3 separate regions of the Homo sapiens genome follow, and all the other regions are linked to region 2. Evidence: promoter capture Hi-C in 16 types of primary human blood cells and fetal thymus (Javierre and others, 2016). All regions are on one chromosome and are shown on one strand. Each heading gives the region's core, a stretch centred on a gene start or on the middle of the fragment in contact. The rest is flanking DNA. Distances are from core to core; before and after follow the strand shown. Region 1 holds the start of ANKRD46 (ankyrin repeat domain 46). Region 2 holds the start of OSR2 (odd-skipped related transciption factor 2). Region 3 overlaps ANKRD46 (ankyrin repeat domain 46).

What was found. The method cuts DNA at HindIII sites, captures the fragments that hold promoters and counts their contacts. A CHiCAGO score of 5 or more calls a contact.
Region 1: a fragment that was not itself captured here is called in contact with the fragment with the promoter of OSR2 in region 2 in 1 of 17 cell types (fetal thymus); the score reaches 7.4 in fetal thymus.
Region 3: a fragment that was not itself captured here is called in contact with the fragment with the promoter of OSR2 in region 2 in 1 of 17 cell types (fetal thymus); the score reaches 6.0 in fetal thymus.

Annotation. Positions count from the first base shown.
Region 1 is chr8:100,559,273-100,563,636 of GRCh38, forward strand. ANKRD46 (ankyrin repeat domain 46) reads right to left here and starts at 487. Exons shown (of 5, transcript NM_001270377.2): 1 at 439-487. RefSeq lists enhancers at 389-683, 651-790 and a silencer at 481-650. The HindIII fragment of the contact is 870 bases long and covers 2,168-3,037 here.
Region 2 is chr8:98,943,083-98,947,578 of GRCh38, forward strand. OSR2 (odd-skipped related transciption factor 2) reads left to right here and starts at 1,360. Exons shown (of 4, transcript NM_001142462.3): 1 at 1,360-1,741. RefSeq lists a silencer at 1,119-1,478 and enhancers at 1,624-2,124, 2,125-2,625, 4,208-4,496. The HindIII fragment of the contact is 2,241 bases long and covers 706-2,946 here.
Region 3 is chr8:100,539,254-100,543,733 of GRCh38, forward strand. All of the region lies in intron 1 of ANKRD46 (ankyrin repeat domain 46), which reads right to left. Among named protein-coding and RNA genes, the nearest start is that of ANKRD46, 18 kb to the right of the region's middle. RefSeq lists enhancers at 2,649-2,698, 3,479-3,548. The HindIII fragment of the contact is 1,430 bases long and covers 728-2,157 here.

The DNA of each region.
Region 1 (4,364 bases), core at 1,353-3,852, 1.6 Mb after region 2:
CCCAACAGCTTGTCCCGGCGCCTGAACTGTGCGCTCCTGCAAGCACACGCCGCGAAAGCACCGTCTCGCCCCGGCCGAGCAGCTGGACCTGCGGCGTGGCTTCCGCGCTCCACCCCCCGATTAACCGCGAGCCAGGGCTGCCCGCGCTGCCCAGGGGTTCCCCGGACCACAGCCCTAACCCGCAAGCGCAAACGAGAACCCTCGCAGGCCTCTGCCCGGCCCTCGTGAACACACAGACCGCGAAGAAGCCATCACGGACCCGCGGTCGCTTCCTCGGCCCGGCTCCCTCCAGTCGCCGCGGAAGGTGTGGGAAGCCCGGGCACCCTCGCCCCTCAGGGCCCCGGCCAGGCCTACTGGACCTCCAGTGCTACAGGGACGGTGCAGGAGATATCAAGTGGCTCTAGCCCAGGCGCTGCCCACAGGCCCCGGGCCAAGTACCTGCGACTCGAACGAGCAGCAGCGACAGCGGCAGCTTCAAGGAGGCGGTGACGGGCGGAGGGGAGGGGCCAGACAGGGGTAGTCGGAGTCCCCGCTGGGCCAGAGCGGTCTCGCGCTGCAGCCCCCGGCGCGCCCCCTGCAGGTGGGCGGTCCTCACGGTGGCTCGGGCTGCTCTGAGTCAGAGACTCCGGGAAAGCCTGCTCTGAATTAGGGAAAGCATCAAAACTGTGGCTTCAGAAGAGAAAGACAGCCTAGAAGAGGTTTATCCGATCTGAGTCCGGGAGCATTTTGCACTTTTCACGTCCTATTCTAAATTCACATCCCATCCCCTTAGCTAAATGGGGGCTTCAAAGGCAAGGGCAGTTTCATTAGGTGCTATAAGCATCAATTAATAGTTGCTGGCCTCTAGGTAGGTCTTCTATAGACCCGAAATTGACATATTAGGAATAGCCACTAATGATTGGCTGCACTATTTCTAAAATATAACCCTGCATTTTTACTTTTTTCAAAAGCAGTTTGAATCTTTTTTTTTTTTTTTTTTTTTAGACGGAGTCTCACTCTGTCGCCCAGGCTGGAGTGCAGTTGCTCAACCTCGGCTCACTGCAAACTCCAACTCCGCCTTCCGGGTTCAAGCGATTCGCAGTTTGAATCCTTCCATCCTACTTTGTAGGGTTCCTTGACTTATTGCAACATGTACAGCCAAGACTAACTAAAAGTGTGGTGGGACATTCATATGCTGGAAACATTCTTTCATGCAAAACTAGTTTTTTCTTTTTTTCATTTTACCAACTCCAGTCCTACAGCCAAGACAACTCTCACTGCACAGTGACCGTCCTCTGAATTCTAGCACCCTCATCCAACCAAGCCACGCTCTATGGCAAACTTGTCCAACCCCTGGCCCACACCTGCAGGCTGCATGCAGCCAAGACAGTTTAGAATGCAGCCCAACACAAATTAATAAACTCTCTTAAAACATTATGAGTTTTTTTTTTTTTGCAATTTTTTTTTAGCTCATCAACAATTGCTGGTGTTAGTGTATTTTATGTGTGGCCCAAGACAATTCTTCTTCCAATGTGGCCCAGGGAAGCCAAAAGATTGGACACCCCTGCTCTAGGGTATCTCATGGTTCATTCATTCAAGGACCACCTACACCATCTAATAATTTGTTCTTGAAAGTGTCATGTAAAGGTTTAGGACTATTGTCATATTAGAGGAAATCACTATTACATTTCTTTCATGTAAGAATTATAAGATCTGGCCATGCACGGTGGCTCACACCTGTAATCCCAGCACTTTGGGATGCTGGGGTGGACAGATCACTTGAGGTCAGGAGTTCGAGACCAGCCGGACCAACATGGTGAAACCTTGGCTCTACAAAAATACAAAAATTAGCCAGGCACGGTGTTGCACACCTGTAATCCCAGCTACTCAGGAGGCTGAGGCACAAGAATCCTTGAACCCCAAAAGGCGGAGGTCACAATGAGCCGAGATCTCACCACTGCACTCCAGCCTGGGTGACAGAACAAGACTCCATCTCAAAAAAAAAAAAGTTATAAGATCTTAGGGCATTTCACATTTTATTGTGCTATGACTAATCAGCAATATTACTTGTTAAATTGATGACATTTATTAATCAGTTTGTTATTGATGTCCTCCTTCTGGTTGTGTATTGAGTTTATAATATCTTCACTGATGCCTATAAACTATGACAAATTAGCAAGGAAATTAAAGCTTTTCCCAATGTATTAATAAGATTTACTCTTCATTAGTTGACTCATCCAACAATCTGAGAGCCTCTCCATTACTTCTATTCAAATTTATCTCTTCCTCTTCATGAATTACTGCTTTTGATTGATATGAAAAAATGTAGGGATGGTGAAGACAGCTTTTTTCTCTGATGAGATTAAAGTGAACTGCATGCTGCACATATTCTATGGCTCCTTCATGTTACCACACCTGGGCACTTTGACACAGTGGCTGTTAGGAGCTGATATGGTTTGGCTGTGTCCCTGCCCAAAATCTCATCTTGAATTATAATAATACCCATATGTCAAGGGCAGGACCAGGTGAAGATAATTGAATCATGGGGGCAGTTTCCCCTATGCTGTTCTCATGAGAGCGCGTGAGTTCTCATGAGATCTGATGGTTTTATAAGGGGCTTCTCCTTTTGCTCAGCACTCATTCTGTCTCCTACCACCCTGTCAAGAAGTGCCTTCTGCCATGATTGTAAGTTTCCTAAGGCTGCCCCAGCCATGCAGAATTGTGATTCAACTGTGAGTCAATCACACGTCTTTTCTTATAAATTACTCAGTCTTAGGTGTTTCTTCATAGCAGTGTGAGAATGGACTAATACAGGAGCATTTGCAGAAGCCATTCCTACTCTCCAGCAATAAGTTAATAGTGCATGGAAGTGACCACGAACCACATGAACGTCTCCCATTAAATGCAAACCAAAGTACCCCCAGCTGCATTTCTGTTTAGCTGGATCCCAAAAATGCCTGTAGTCACTCCAATGTTAGCCAGTAGAAGAATACTCCGGAAGTCTCAGTGGAAAGAGAGAAATCTTAATCAATTGTAGGTAAAGTATTTTAATTTTGCAAGCTTTACAAAAACATATAACCATATCAGCACTGCTTCCCAGGGCCTTGGAAGGGGCCTGAACAAGGGAGGGCTATATATTGGTTTCCTATTGTCATTGTAACAAATTACCCTAAATTTAATACTTTAAAACAAGGATTATTTTACAGTTCAAGAGGTGAGAAGTCCAAAATCAGTTTCGCTGAGCTAAAATCAAAGTGCGGGAAGTGCTTTCCTTCTGGAGATTCTCAGGGGAGTTGGTTGCCATGCCTTCTCCAGCTCCTAGAGGCCACCTACGTCCCTGGCTCATGGCTCCTTTTTCCATCCTCAAAGCTAGCAGTGTAGAGCATTTTTACACCCCTCTGACTTCTGCTTCTGTCCTTGCATTTCCTCTGTGACTCTCCTGTCTCCTTATAAGGACCCTTGTGATTATATTGGGCACACTTGGATAATCCAGAATAATCTCCCTATCTCAAGATCTTTCACTTAATCACATTTGCAAAGTTCTTTTTACCATGCAAAGCAACATATTCATAGATTCTGGGGATTAGGATTAGGATGTGGACATCTTTGAGGATCTGTTATCCAGCCTACCACAAGAGCCCTGAAGCTTAAACTTTACACTCTTCAGGTAAGTCTGCCTCTTCTTCCTCATTACTAAAATCTATCTGGTCCTGAGTTTTGATCGTGAGAGTTCCAATGGCGGAGGAATACCTGTAATTACAACCGAGATAAGTGTCATGAAGCGAAAGAGAAAGGATTCCTTGAGGGCAAACAATATGGGAGCTAATTTAGATAGAAGGGCAACAATGTCTTTGAATAAGTGATATTTAATCTAAGATGCAAAGCATGAGGAATTAATTATGTAATGAACAAGGGAAGTATTCTAGACAGAGGAGACGGTATGTTTGGCCTGTGAATCCTGATGGCAGAAAGCTATCACCTTCTGTGGCAGTGTCTCTACCACTGAATCCTTAGCACCACCACGGTGACTGGCACATCAGACATGTTTGGGAATATTAGCTTAGTAGTTTTCAACCTGGCAGCATGTTACAATCATGCAGCAGCTTAAAAAATAACAGTGCCAGCCGGGCGCGGCATCTCACGCCTGTAATCCCAGCACTTTGTGAGGCCGAGGCGGGTGGATCATGAGATCAGGAGTTCAAGACCAGCCTGGCCAAGATGGTGAAACCCCATCCCTACTAAAGATACGAACATTAGCCGGGCGTGGTGGTGGGTGCCTGTAATCCCAGCTACTTGGGAGGCTGAGGCATAGACTTGCTTGAACTTGGGAGCCAGAGGTTGCCATGAGCCAAGATCGTGCCACTGCCCTCCAGCCTGGGCCACAG
Region 2 (4,496 bases), core at 110-2,609:
CTCGGCATAAATAAAATAGAAAGAATTTTATCTTAATAAAATAATATCTGGGAGCTTCTGCTTGACTCCCCAATTACTGCTTAACCTTTTGACAGTTTTTAGCCTCTGCTTGTATTTATCTACTTCCCCGCACGATTGAGATTTTTTGAATTGTCCTTTGGGGCGTCTCATTCAAAACCATCTTTCGACGGAACACTTTTGAATTGTACAGCCTCTTGGTTGAAGATCTACGTCCTCAAAGTGCGGGCTTGCCGTGGAGTAACACAGATCCCCTCTGGCAACTCGTCTGGGACGAAGGGCGTTTTTGCTTAGTGTTGATCACGCAAATCACATCTGAAAAGAAGCTGCTTAAAATGGGTGTGTATCATTCCCTTCCTGTCACTCGGTCACCCCTATTCCAGAGAGGTTGAAGTGCTTTTTGCAGTTACACTCACACAAGACCAAACCTTTAGAAGGACCTGAAAAATGTATCACTGCACTTTGAATTCTATTAACTTTCCTGGAGACTGAACATTGAACTCAATTTTTGCTGGGAATGAAGATGTAAATGTTTTGAAAAACTAGAATCGCATTTTCCTAAATTTTAAAAATGATTGTTCTTCACCAATTCCAGATGGATTCTTTATTCTTTGCCAATGGGTTGCAGATGCCCACTGTTTTAACCAAGTTGGTTTACTGCGTATGAAATGAACATTTGCCGATTAAAGCTTAAATATTGGAAGAAATTTCTCCTGGGGCATTCCACGCGTCTTTGCAATAATTACTAAATTAGTCAATTGCCACCTCTGTAAACAAACTTCGTTTAGAAAACAGCAGGCGAAAGCAGACTACACATGTAGTCATAATTGACCAAAAGTATGTACAAAACTGTTTAAAATTGGGGAAAGAGTGATTTATGCTGGAGAATGCAGTCTAGACCTGAATTATTTTACTTTACGGTGAAGGTAGTTGTATTGAATGTGTTAAGATGTGCAAATTAAGCCGGCGAGCGAACCAAATAAAAATACTAAATGCCCTTTGGGATTCTCTGTGGAGTCTTTGAGAGGCAGAGAAGCAGTTGTTGAGTTTCTAATGGTATAAGGAAAAGTGGCAACGAGAAGAAAGGGGGTGGGTATTGTGTTTGTGTGTGAGTTTTGAACTGAGTCACCTACGGCTGCGTCTCTATAACAGGGAAACCTCGAGCAAACCTGTGCCTTTAAGACTCAGTTGCTATCCAAACAGAAGTAAACAGAGTGGACCATTAGCAGACGCCGGGCGCGGAGGCGGAGCCAGGGCGCTGAGGGCCCCGCGCGGCGGCGGGACGCCCGCCCGAAGGGGAGGCGGGGCCGCTACTAAAGCCCAAGACTCCCGGCCTGGGGCAGCCTGGGGAGGGACGCGGGCGGGGACGGAGCTCGGCGTGCTTGCTGCTGGAGGGTGATGGCCCTGCAAGGCTGTGGGCTCCGACCTCACCGGGAGTCGACAGCGAGAGGTTCGCCGAAGAGCGAGGTTCTGGGCGAGCGCTGAACGCCGGCCCCAAGCACCCCGGGTCTTTACACAGTCCGCGTCCACAGACTCTGACGAAGACGTGGATCTGCTCTCGCTTTAGCTGCTCGCGGTCCTCCAGATCATGTCCGCGACTCCTGCGACTCCGCGCGGAAAAAAAAGTTTGCCAGGCGTGGACTCAATGACCTTTCCAAGCTGTGCGCCTCGCTGCCTGGACCGGGTCTGAGCGCGGCTGCCCAGGTTGACCTTTCTGCGGGAGGTGAGTGTTCGCTCTGGGAAGGGGCTGTAGCTGCCCTTTGGAAGGAAGGGTTTGGGGGTGTAAGAGGCGTTCAGATTCTCGGTCTGGTGTGCCCCAAATTCAGATGTGAAAATAGATCATGGGGATGCAATCCCAGGGCACTGTATTTCTCACTTCCTTGGGTCCCTGGCACGCGACTCCCAGCTAACACCCAACCACACACATTTCTACATACTGTTTCTTAATTTTGTTTTGGGATATTTAATCTAAGCGGTCAGCAAGACTTCTTATAAAAGCTGGTCTACGTACACTGAGATCAAACCCCACAATCCCATGGTGTTTCTGCTCCTGCCCTAGCAAGCCTGGGTCGACTTGTCCCGGGGCAGCCGCGGCAGCGCAGCGTGGACGGGCCCGGACACCCGGTGCCTGCCCAGCCAGCGACGCTGAAGGCACATTTCAAGAGGGAAATAGTTCAGTCCTCGGTAATTTGTCAACCTCGTGCTGGCTTTAAAATTCTCCTCCCACCTTCTAGTCCTGACTGAGGGGGCCCAAAAGCAAACTCCCCGGGGGCTTAAACGCTCGGATTCCTGAGAAACGGCAAGTGAGAAAGGAGTTGCAGTTGTACGAAGAAGGAGCGAGGAAAAGGTGTTTGTGGAGGGAGCCCCGGATCTGTCTTCCTACCTGTTAGCCGAGAACAAAAGGGGGCTGGCGTTTCCCGAAGCGAAAGGGCGCAGACAGCCACTTTCTCTGCTAAACAAACTGCAGTCCTGGGCAGAACAAGAAAATTACTCACGCAGGGGGAGCAAGGGGAGCACAGAGAAACAGAACCTAGATTATGCGGAAGGCATCTTAATTTAATTAACTCCTTGGGAAGGCAGAGGCGCTCTGAAGGGGCAGGAACTTCGCAGCCGTTTCTCTATTCACCTGATACAGTCTGGCCCTAACAATCTGTCCTTTAACAATTTTTTTTCTTTTTAATGATCTTCTTTGATCTACTTAGTCTATAGCTCTCTAATTTATATAAAATTCTGCTGTGGTTTGGGCTGAAATTCAGTGAGCCTACCTATCCGACCATCAGTCATTTATCTCATATACCAGTGCACAGGTTTTAGCAGATGAACCCTGACTGTATATTATTTTTAGATAATTCAGTGTAATATTACCATTACCAAAGAGCGAAACTCCTTATCAAGTTACTTCTTAATTTTTTTCTCCAATGTTTTGAAAGCTTCACTGAACTGAAATAAGTGTGTACACATCTTCCTTGGTGACAGCCAGTCAAGTAAATTTTACAAAATTTCTCCACATGCCTGGAAATTCCTGTGAAGAAGACTGATGAAAGAAAAGTAGCCTCAGCTCCACCAACATATTTATGACTTTTCATTGGTTTAAGTTTCTTTCCTTGCAAGATTAAAAGTAACCAGTGGTCTGAAACGGGACGGTGGAGAAATGACAGCAGATGATGATCGCTGTTATTTCCTGAAAGGGAGTGTGGGAACTACAAGGCTCAGCTCTAGACAAAACGAAAGTACTTTAGGATCTCTGCATTCACTTAAAATACTTCTTTTGACATACATTTCCAGCAACTCAATGGGAGTGTGGAAATTTAACCTTCCTAATTATTTGTGGCAAGAGCCATTGGTGGATATTTAAGGTTGTTCTGTTTGTAAAAGGGTTTCAAAAGGACCAATGGTTTGCTCTTCCTCTATGAAGAAACTATCTGCCCTACAAATTAAAACAAACAGGTACTATGAAATAGCACTTTTTTTTTTTACTAACATGAACCTGAATTATATTAGTCGTTAATTTCTGTATTATAAACCATTCAGAGAAAAGGGAAAGAAGATGGCACTCAACTTTGTGGCAGTGTAACCTTTATGGCAGAGTTCGCTGTGCCTTTGGTATAGAAATCACAGGTCACAACAGTACTTTAGCCAACACCACTCCCCCACATGCCCGCTCCCCCCTCCCCAACGCATACACCCTGTGGTGGGAGTTGTGCTTTGCCTCCTGTATTTATTTCTAAGAAATCTAGTCTGGGAATACACCCAAATAATAATTTCGGTTTCCTCTCTATGGGAAAGAGGTTGCTTTTCAACACGAAGGGAAAAATAATATTTTGAATCTCTGGAAAATCCTCATTACGCAAAGAGAAGGAAATAAAGGTATAAATTATTATTTTTAATTGAAAGGGAAATAATCAGGTAGATTACCAGGAATGTTAGTAGAATCCTTTTCCCCTGCCTCCCTAAGAGACTTGCCACCGAGCAAAAATGAATCGTGATTTGTGGTGGGAAAGTTGATTACTAATGGGGGTTTGCAGTTGCGGTTGAATGGTCTGACTGAGACCCTCTGACTGTTACCCACCTCTCATTAACTCTTAGCCTGAACTCCCAGACCGCATACCACCAAGCAGAAGCGATTCGTTAATAAATCTCTGTCCCGAGCCCTTCCAGAGGAAGGTGTGGGCCCCGCAGAGGCAGCCAGATCCTGCCTTGCCAGAGCGCTCTGTCATTAGCGTAGCCCCCTAAGTCTGCTCACAGATGGAACCATAGGCAATACTTCATAACGCGCTGGAGAGGACAAGTCAGACGCAGGAAGGGGTTGGGTGGGAAGGGAAGGCTGGAGTCTCTCCTGCCTTCCTGCTGGGTTCAAATGCCAGGCTTGGCGGTTGGTGGCACAGACTGGGAAACGTGACTCCTACACCTGGGGGTCTGCCCTCAGAGGGAAGGCCCTGGTCCCCCGAACTGGCAGAACTCCTTTCTAAAAAGGGGCT
Region 3 (4,480 bases), core at 193-2,692, 1.6 Mb after region 2:
TAGGGCCCAATTTTTAACCTTTTAGTGATCTGTCCTAAATAAAGATAAAATATGTGAATATTTATTTGGATTCTTTAAAAAAGGAAAAGAGTTGCTCTCTTTCTGTGGGAAGTAAATAAAAGGAGGAACTAAGAACACTATCCTTTTAGGATATCCCAGTACTATGAAGAACATTGGAAAGAAGGAGTTTATAAGCAGAATCTTCTGAATTTTATTTCCAAGGCTCAATAATAACAGAAGTTCAAATTTTTAGCAAATTTTTGGAGCAATTTTTAGGCAGATGTAGCTCTACCACAGACATACATTTTTATTTTATATCCAACTTTGTAGAAAACACACATTTTGTGGTATTTCCAACATTTCAGTCTAATGTGGCTGTGTCTAAAATTCTTAACTTTTTGATGTCTTCAATACAAAGCTATTAGTAACTTCATAATTAAAACTATTAATGCATAAAAATGAGGTTAATTTGAAGTATGTGAATTACACAATAATACTTAAAGACAGGCCACTAGCCAGGTGCAGTGGCTCATACCTATAATCCCAGCACTTTGGGAGGCCAAGGTGGGAGGATTGCTTGAGCCCCGGAGTTCGAGACTAGCCTGGGCAACAATGCAAGACCCTGTCTGTACAAAAAACAAAAAAGGCCAGTTCACTGAGTTAAGTTCATATAATAATTAAAACTCTGTTAATCAGATATTACTTAGTAGATGTTCTTCTGGAATTAAGCTTAATGAAAAGAGAAAAAAGAATTTCCTGTTTGTTATGTCTGGTATTACTATGCAAATAATTGCTTGGCAACATTTGAGATACACAGTATTCTACATTTATTAAGTTATACTGCAGGCACAGTTCTAAGTGTTTTTCCTATAATAACTCATTTAATCCTCATAGAAACCCTACAAGGTACATGCATACTATCACTATACTCATTTCATGAGTAAAAAAAAAAAAGTCACTAAGTTTGTTTCATAAGATTTTTTGTTTAATGAATTAGCTTAGCAAATGTCTTCATCAAACATAAGGGAGAACATTAGTCTAGCATACACATTCCATATAACTCTTTACAATCATTTCATTCAAAGTGAACGTCTTCTTAAACTGTAGAAACAATACCTGGAAATGTCTTTTACTTCACAGAAAATATTCTAGCACACATAAGCCAAATTAACTGTTTTTAATCATCTCATAAAAATAAGTTTTTAAAGTATGGGAAAATAACAATAAAATATTTTTGGAAAAGTCTTCTACTTCACAGGTGACTAAATTCTTAGACTCATCATTCTCAAGTACTTCCTACTGATTGGGATAACAAGAAAACACCTAAATTTTTCTTTCTCCATCAGGAAATCAAAAAACACCAACAACGATTTCTGATATATTTCTGGCAATATTTATATTGCTTAACTATTATTTGTTTGCATTATTAAAGTTTAGTTACAATTCAACTTTTAGAAAAGGTATTGGCTTAAGACAAATCAAAATTAATTGTTCACAAAAGGAATGCTGGTTATTTTGGATATTCTATTTCACATTCTAATATCTTAGTATTTTCCAAAATCTTTACTATGTAATTTTACCATGTTTAAAATTCTTAGCAAGGGACTTCCTCCTCAGGAGGTTTCCAGTTTATAGTCTATCATTACATAATAAAGTTACTTGATTCTTTAAAACTGTTTTTTTCTAGTTGCAACAGCACTTTATTTATATGGCCTAAGGGTGCCACCTTGTGGCCTGCATAGGCTTCAAGTTCAACTTCAGCATCTAGTATGGCATAAGGTGAGAAGTCTGTACCTCCGAAGTTTCTCTGTTCCATTTCAAGTTATTTACCATAATTCTCACTAACTGTGAATTTGTGAAAATCCAAAATTGGGATGAAGTTCAATTTTCCTTTTAAAAAAACTTTTCAAGAAAATTAATAGCAAAAATATGATTCCAGGCCTATTCAGAAATCTAAACCTCATTAAACCCACCTTAGCAGACTTTATATAAAGTGCTACTTAAATGGCATTCTAACTTATTCATTTATTGTGTTGTTTCAAAATATAAGAATTGTGAGTTTTGCAAAATATTCCTTATTTTCTAAATAGTCTACAAAATTTAAACCAGACTTCACCCTAAGTAAGTTTGAAGGTATGAGATTGTATCCTTAGAAGAAGCTTAACTGTAGTAGTCACGTGTCGCTTAATGATGGGGTATGTTCTGAGAACTGCATCGTCTGGTGCTTTCACTGTTATGTGAACAACACAGAGTGTCCTCAGGTGCCTACACAAGCCTAGAGGATATAGCCTACTACATGCCCATGCTATACATGACTATTTCCATAAAATTCTTAGAGCTGGAAGGCCATCCAACATCATTTAACTCAATCTCATTATTTTACAAATAAGGACACTGAGACCAGAAAGGCTGTAACTTTGTTACTTTACATGCTACCGCTCATCCCCACACGTTCTAGTCCTATTCATGATTCACTGTCGAAATACAAAATGCAGTCATACACTGCATAATGACATTTTGGTCAACGACGGACTGCATATATGAAGGTGGTCCCATAAGATTAGAATATTCTTACTATAACTTTTCTATGTTTAGATACACAAATATTTGCCACAGTATTAAAACTGCCTACAGTATTCAGCACAGTAACATGCTGTATAGGGTTGTAGCCTAGGAACAACAGGCCATACCATATGGCCTGGGTGTGCAGTAGGCTCTTGTATCTAGGTTTGGGTAGTAAGTACACTTTGTACACAAACAATGAAATAATCTAATGGTGCATTTCTCAGAAGGATGTACTGCATCCTTCACACAAAACATACATAATGACAGTGGGTGGACAAGGGCCCTCCTCCCTACACTATAAAACCCTGGAGGATCTAGTGGACTTCTTTAAGGTGGGGTCTGCTGTGTGTGAAGCTATGCAAATCACTCTAGTCTACATTTACCATTTGTACATTTATGGCCTAGGTAAAACCTTAAAATTCAGAATTCTTTACGTATCCTTATTACACTCACATCCTACCTCACTCACTCTGACCTCCAGGGGCCCTCATAAATAAGGATATACAACATAAGACAACTGGACAGCAGACTAAGGAGATGCCTTAGTCAAACTGTATTTTTAAAATGGCATGTTTGTAGAACAGACATGAAACGACTGAGAAACGGCAGAATGACTCATATGTGGGGTATTAGATGTATTTCTTCTCTCGCCACTGGAAATGTTGATTTAATGCTGAGACCCTTGGTAGAAAGGGAATAAATAGTCTTATATCTAAGGGAGTTGAGGAGTGTCTGTGGCTTTAAAGGGAATCTGTGGCTCTTTTCCTGCTGTCCCTGCTCTGGACTAGGGGTAACCTATTTTGGGAAGGAGTCTTTTTTGAGAGTAGGAAGTACATGCTTAGAAATGGCTCCAGGTTCACAAAAGAAAAACAGATTCCCTGCCCCCAGGTTTTCTAGCCTAGTTCATGAGGATAGAAATAAATAAAGGATTATAGGCAGAAGTTGTAACTTTTGGCTAGTGCTTTCCTCATGCTGCCAATTAGGAAGGGGTGGGGCAAGAAGTGGAAGACACCGATATTCTAAAGCAGAGCTCAATCACCAGTCCTGATAACTCCTTCAGCAGAGTAATTTCAAGCATAAGACAGCGAATTACAGCAATTCTCTTTCTGACTGAGCCCTGGCCTCTACACACAGCCTCTCCTATTAAAATGGTAATCTGTGAGTTAGCTCAGTTTACATGTGTGTACTCAGAGCATTCTGGAGAATCTTTCAGAAACGGGAAAAGAAGATGACAAGTTCCTATATCAGTTTCCCATGGAGCTATTTTTGCAAACTGCCCAGAGACCAGACACCTGCCCATTGTGACTAACATGGGAAAGAATTGTCAAAGACTATGGATCTTAAGTTTTAATAGCTACATAGCTCTTCCAGATTTGCTGCTTTCCAGGAAATGTCTTTAATAAACAGGCTTTGTTTGTTTAGACACTGTCAATTAAAACTGATTCCCAGTGTTAGCAACTGTTGATACAAACCTTATTTTCGTTTTAATTCTTATTCTCAATCTCAAAACCATTTAATATTTTGCGATTTGTTCTATAACAAATACTAAGGAAACTGGGAATAAAATGGTAAATTTCTTTATATCAAAAAACAATTTTCTAAATGACTTGTAGATAGGAGCAGGACACAATATAAAACTGTTAAGAACTTGTTTTTAAAAGTTTGAACAACTGCTAAACTTTCGTCCTTGTACTCAAGAGAACTACAGTGTTAAACAAAGATAATTATGATTTAAAAATTATTCTTTAAAATGCTGTCAGAAGATAATGGCTTCACAGTCTTCAAACAATAGGAGAGTAAGTTTCTTGTTTTTAAATAAATAAATTACACTCTCAGGATTGACGAGCTTTGGATTTGGGGAAATGAACTATAATATGAAATGTTATATCTTAAACTGTAGAGAAGTATAAGAAAA